2 separate regions of the Homo sapiens genome follow, and region 2 is linked to region 1. The links are contacts of gene promoters, found by promoter capture Hi-C in human tissues and cell types (Jung and others, 2019). All regions are on one chromosome and are shown on one strand. Each heading gives the region's core, a stretch centred on a gene start or on the middle of the fragment in contact. The rest is flanking DNA. Distances are from core to core; before and after follow the strand shown. Region 1 holds the start of NCLN (nicalin). Region 2 holds the start of GIPC3 (GIPC PDZ domain containing family member 3).

The links. Contacts are between HindIII fragments. The study calls those that stand out against the background at their distance.
Region 2: the fragment with the promoter of GIPC3 here is called in contact with the fragment with the promoter of NCLN in region 1 in 1 of the 25 tissues and cell types used here (mesenchymal stem cells).

What each region holds. Positions count from the first base shown.
Region 1 is chr19:3,184,537-3,187,236 of GRCh38, reverse strand. It overlaps NCLN (nicalin), which reads right to left and starts at 1,307. Exons shown (of 15, transcript NM_020170.4): 1 at 1,023-1,307. The coding sequence starts at 1,206. RefSeq lists a silencer at 821-1,390 and enhancers at 1,901-2,040, 1,347-2,229. The HindIII fragment of the contact is 11,170 bases long and covers 1-2,700 here.
Region 2 is chr19:3,584,094-3,586,793 of GRCh38, reverse strand. GIPC3 (GIPC PDZ domain containing family member 3) reads right to left here and starts at 1,316. Exons shown (of 6, transcript NM_133261.3): 1 at 972-1,316; 2 at 114-299. The coding sequence starts at 1,196. The HindIII fragment of the contact is 10,668 bases long and covers 1-2,700 here.

The DNA of each region.
Region 1 (2,700 bases), core at 58-2,557:
CACTGGGGTCAGGGCCACGACGGGAGGGGGCGAGGCTGTTGAGTGGGAGACTTGCAGAATGCAAGGGCAAGGGGGTGCGAATTTGGAAAGGGAAGAGGAAATCCTGGAAAGATGGAACAAGTGGGGTTCTGGGAAGTGGGTGTGAGGAGGCTGAGCTGAGGGCGTGGGTATGCATCAAAGGCGGGACAGAAAGGGGGTCAAAGGGAACCCCAGGCGAGTGGACTGAACTGGGGACGTGGGAGGAGACCAGGGAAGCTGGGCTAGCAGATTCTGAAACATGACTCACGAACTGGGACCAGAGAGCGTCAGGGGTCTGGGGACAAATGTGCCCTTGACGTGGGGGCCGGTGACTAGAGCGAGAAAATTCAGGGGAGTTGAATTTGGGCACTGGACAAAATGCACTTGGCACCCAGGGCCGTGGGAGGGGGTGGGGAATGCTGGACCACCGCGTCGGGTGGCTCAGCCTGGCAGAAATCAGTGCAGGGACCTTTAACTCCAAACGCAGTCAGCTAAAGGCGAGAGGCCTGGGAACACGGACGTGACCCAGTGAATCCAGAGACCAACCAGATGGTCTCCAGAACAGGACCCTGGGAGCTGGAGGTCAGGACGGGAGCGTCTGCTCAAGTGAGCCCGGACCAGGAAGCCTAAGGGGCGGAGGGGGCCCAGGAGGGAGAAACTCGGCAAGGCAGGCAGACGCCGGCCCAGCTGGGGACAGGAGAGAGGGGACTTAGGGCTCCAGGGACGCGGGACGCTTGGCCCGGCCATGGGTTCCGGGGCAGGGAGACCTAGGCAGGGGCCGGGGGCTGTGGGAGCGAGCGCGGGGGGTCCCTGGGCGCTAGGCAAGGAGAGCAGGGATTCCAGGGCGCCCGGGGGTCCAGGGCGGCAGGGCTCTGCCTCGCCTGGGGCCTGAGCATGGGTCGGGCAGCCCAGGCCGGAGCTAGGGATCGGCCTGGGGATCGCCGGGCCGGAGTGGCGTGGCCGGGGAGCCCGGGGAGCCCCGAGGGTGGGCCGGGGACACGCACCGTAGGGCTGGCCCTGCAGGTCGTACTGCTGCATGCGGTACACGGTGAACTCGTGCGCGGCGTCGGCGGCAGGCAGCGGCGGCGCCACCAGCAGCAGCACAGCGGGCAGGAAGACGATGAAGCCGAGCGGCAGACAAGACGCCTTCAGCATGTTCTCCAGCACCTCGCCCGCTTCCTCCAGCATCCTGGCCGGCGGCGGGGCCGCGCGGGGCGGCAGCTGGGACGGGACGGCGGCGGCGGCGGCTCCCGCGGACTCACCTCGGCATGGGTAGCCGCCGGGGTCCTGCGGGCGCCGCGCGGGGCAGCCCGCACTCGCCCTGAGGTCCTGTGGGCACCGCGGCGAACCGCCCCGCCAGCCGCGCTGCCTGTCGGGAATTGTAGTCCGTCCGTCCGGCGCTCGCGGAGCCCTGTGGGAGTTGTAGGCCCACTCTGGAACTCCCGGAAGGTGCGGCAGGCTGTTCGGCTAATACCGTTGAGGTTTCACATAAACTCCAAGTCATAAAATGCAATAAAATGCTTTAAAAAACTATTTCGCGATATCACTTTCTTAACCTTGTCTTTGGCGTTGGGGGAGCTAGGGTGAGGGGCGAAAGGTGGGGACAGGACGTGACCTTGCGACCTGGAAGGAAGTTGGGGATAAAGAGAAAAGGAAGTGCCTGCCTGGCGCGCTAGGTCTTCTGGGAGTTGTAGTCCCGTCAAACACACAAAGGGTCACGGGAACTGTAGTCGTCCTGGCAGAAATTGCTGAGAAAAACAAAAATCACTTAAAACTCCCGAGGATGTAGATGTCAAACTCCACGAAGGCAAAAACTTTTGTCTGTTTTGTGCATATGATGTATCCCCGGCATCTAGCACAAGACCTGGCGCACGGCGGGTGGCCTATACCATTTTTGAATGAATGAATGAAAAATAGAAAGTCATGATAGTCAGTTCCTAAGGGAGGCCGCAGTGGGTTGTGGGACTTGTAGTCTGGAACCTGCGGTTTGTGCAGGGGTCGGTGGCAGGTATTTATATTTATCTTTATTCATATTTGGGGCATACTTATACTAAAAAAGTATTTGTTGTTCATCAGAAATTTAAAGTTAAAACCCAGTGTCTCAGGGCTGGAGGTACCTAAGGAACGTCCCTTTGTACAGATGGGGAGACTGAGCCCCAGGGTGCAGCAGACAGTAGCCCTGGCTCTCAGCACGTTATCATCCCAGGCTCCGTACAGCTGCCTAAGGAGTCAGGGCTTCCTTTCTGTCCCAAGTGAGAAGTGGCATTGGTGCCGATTAAGAGCCTGGGCTCAAATCCCAACTCCTCCATTTCCCAGCTGTGTGGCTTTGGGCAAGTCGCTTCACCTCTCAGAGTCTCAGTTTCCTCAGATATAATGATAAAGAATCAAGCACTCTCCCTGCCAGCAGCATGTGAGAATTCTGTTTGTTTGTTTGTTTGTTTGTTTGTTTTTGAGATGTAGTCTCTGTCACCTAGGCTGGAGTGCAGTGGCTTGATCTCAGCTCACCGCAACCTCCACCTCCTGGGTTCAAGCAATTCCTGTGTCTCAGCCTCCTGAGTAGCTGTAAATTACAGGCGTGAGCTACCGCGCCCGGCTAGAAAGGGAGTTTCTGAGTGTGCTGCTGGGTCACTGAGCACCTACTGTGTGCCAGCCGTGTGGTGGGTGCTGGGGACACAGCCGGGA
Region 2 (2,700 bases), core at 67-2,566, 400 kb before region 1:
TGGCAGGGCAACCCCAGCCACCCGCCTCCAATCCGCAGAACCCACGTCGACCCAGAGTGGGGGGGGCAGTTGCTGGACCCCAGGAAGCCACCCGCCCACCCCCTCCCGGGCACCTTGATGAAGGCGTAGCCAGCCCCGTTGTCCGTGATGGTCAGCCCCAGAGCATCCTCTGTCTTAGTGACCTCCACCTCCTTGGTCTCGCCTCGCACGTGGGCAAAGATGAAGTCCTCCAGGCCTATCTGACCCCCCAGGAGCTTCTGCATGTCCACTTTGTGGCTGTTGAGGGTGCAGAATAAAATCTTCCCGGGGGAGAAGGAGCCTAGAGTTAGCCAGGGCATGCATCCCCCCACGCAGCCACCCTGTCTGCGCAGGCCCCTGCCCCCAGCGACCAGGATCCCAGCCCATGGGAAAGGGCAGGGCGTGGGACCCCCAGAACAGAGAGAGGAGGGAGAAGGAGACTTCCAGCAGGTGGAGACCCCTCTCCATACCCCGGGACCTCCAGCCCCCAGACCTCCAGGTTTAATCTGCTGGCGCCCCCTGGGGGCTGCAAACCAAACGAACCCGGATTGGAAAAACGCCCAGGAACCCCCCAACCCCACGGCGGCCTCAAACTTCCCATCCCTAAGGGGGCCATCTGGAACCCCAGACCCCAGCTACGCCCAGGAAGCACAGAGGCGCTTCCCCGAGGGCTGGGGTCCGCTCCAAGCTAGGTCTGCGCAGAGGATTTTCTGGAATATCTAGGGGTCCGCTAGTCCTAAGACCTGCCCATCTTTTGCGCAGAGCGTGCAAAGGGGGCCCCTGGGAGTGTGGCACCCCGGGATCTGAGGGCTGGGTCTCTGAGATCCGGCGATTAGGCGGCCACCCCGACGTCTGGGATCCGGGGATCTGGGGTCTCCCGTCCAGGGTCCAAGCTCCCTACCCCTCACCCCATCAGGCGGGTGGTCTTGGGCGCCGGTGTCCGGGCTCCTTACCTCGGTGGGCGCGATCCCGAAGGCTTCGGCGATCTTGGCGTACAGCTCGCGGACGTTGGTGAAGCCCTCGATCTTGCCCGTGGGGCTCCCGTGCGCCAGCTGCGTGCGGAAGACGAGGCGCGGGCGGGCGCGGGGCGCGGCCGGGGGCTCCGAGGGCGCGGGCGGGGGCGCAGACGCGCGCGGGGTCTCGGTCCCCCGGGCCTCCCGGGCCGCTGCTCCCTCCATGGCGGGAGAAGTTCGGCCACCCACCCGGGCCCTCGCCGCCGCCGCCGGATCCGCCGCTTCCTGCAGCCTCCCCTCCCCCGGCCCAGGGCGCGACAGCCGAGACGCCCGGGTAAGGGGATCTGGGAACCCGAGCCTCCCGGGAAGGCGACACCGCGGGGTGCGCAGGGGTGGGTCGGGCCCCAGGTGTCCGGGCCCTGCCAGGGCCAGCTGTGCCCTCCCCGGGGATACCCGCAGTCCGGGGGGGCCTGAGCTCAGGACCCTGGAAGAACAGGGACCACAAATAAGGACAGGGACAGGCCTGGAGCGGTGGCTCACGTCTGTAATTCCAGCACTTTGGGAGGCCGAAGCGGGCAGATGACCTGAGGTCAGGAGTTCAAGACTAGCCTGGCCAACATGGTGAAACCCCGTCTCTACCAAAAATACAAAAATCAGCCGGACGTGGTGGCGGGCGCCTGTAATCCCAGCTACTCGGGAGGCTGAGATCTCTTGAACCCGGGAGGCGGAGGTGGCAGTGAGCTGAGATGGCGCCATTACACTCCAGCCTGGGCAACAAAGCGAGACTCCGTCGCAAAAAAAAAAAAAAAAAAAAAAAAAAGGACAGGGACAGCTGAGGGTGCTGGAGCACTCACCCTCTGCTAGGCGAGGTCATTGTTTTATTTTATTTTATTATTTTTATTTATTTATTTATTTTGAGCTGGAGTCTCGCTCTGTCACCCAGTTTGGAGTTCAGTGGCACGATCTCAGCTCACTGCAACCTCTGCCCACCAGGTTCAAGCAATTCTCATGCCTCGGCCTCCCCAGTAGCTGGGATTACAGGCATATACCACCATGCCCGGCTAATTTTTTTGTATTTTTAATAGAGATGAGGTTTCACCATGTTGGCCAGGATGGTCTTGAACTCCTGACCTCAGGAATCCACCCACCTTAGCCTCCAAAAAAGCTGGGATTACAGGCATGAGCCACCACGCCCAGCCTTTGGTTTGTTTGTTTGATTTTGGAGACGGAGTCTAGCTCTGTCGCCCAGGCTGGAGTGCAATGGCGTGATCTCGGCTCACTGCAACCTCCACCTCCTGGGTTCAAGCGATTCTCCTGCCTCAGCCCCCCTAGTAGCTGGGATTATAGGCGCACACCACCATGCCTGGCTAATTTTTGTATTTTTTAGTAGAGACAGGGTTTCACCATGTTGGTCAGGCTTGTCTCGAACCCCTGACCTCAGGTGATCCACCTGCCTTGGCCTCCCAAAGTGCTGGGATTACAGGCGTGAACCACCGCACCCGGCCGCATTCAGTTTTTTAAAATTTAATTTAGAAACATGATTAATTTTTTGTACAGTTGGGATCTCACTGTGTTGCCCAGGCTGGTCTCAAACTCAAGACCAGGAGGTTCAGGCCATCCTTCAGCCTTGGCCTCCCAAAGTGCTAGGATTACAGATGTGAGCCACTGTGCCCAGCTTCTCTTCAGCATTTAAAGCTACCATCTGACATATCAGATATTTTATTTTATT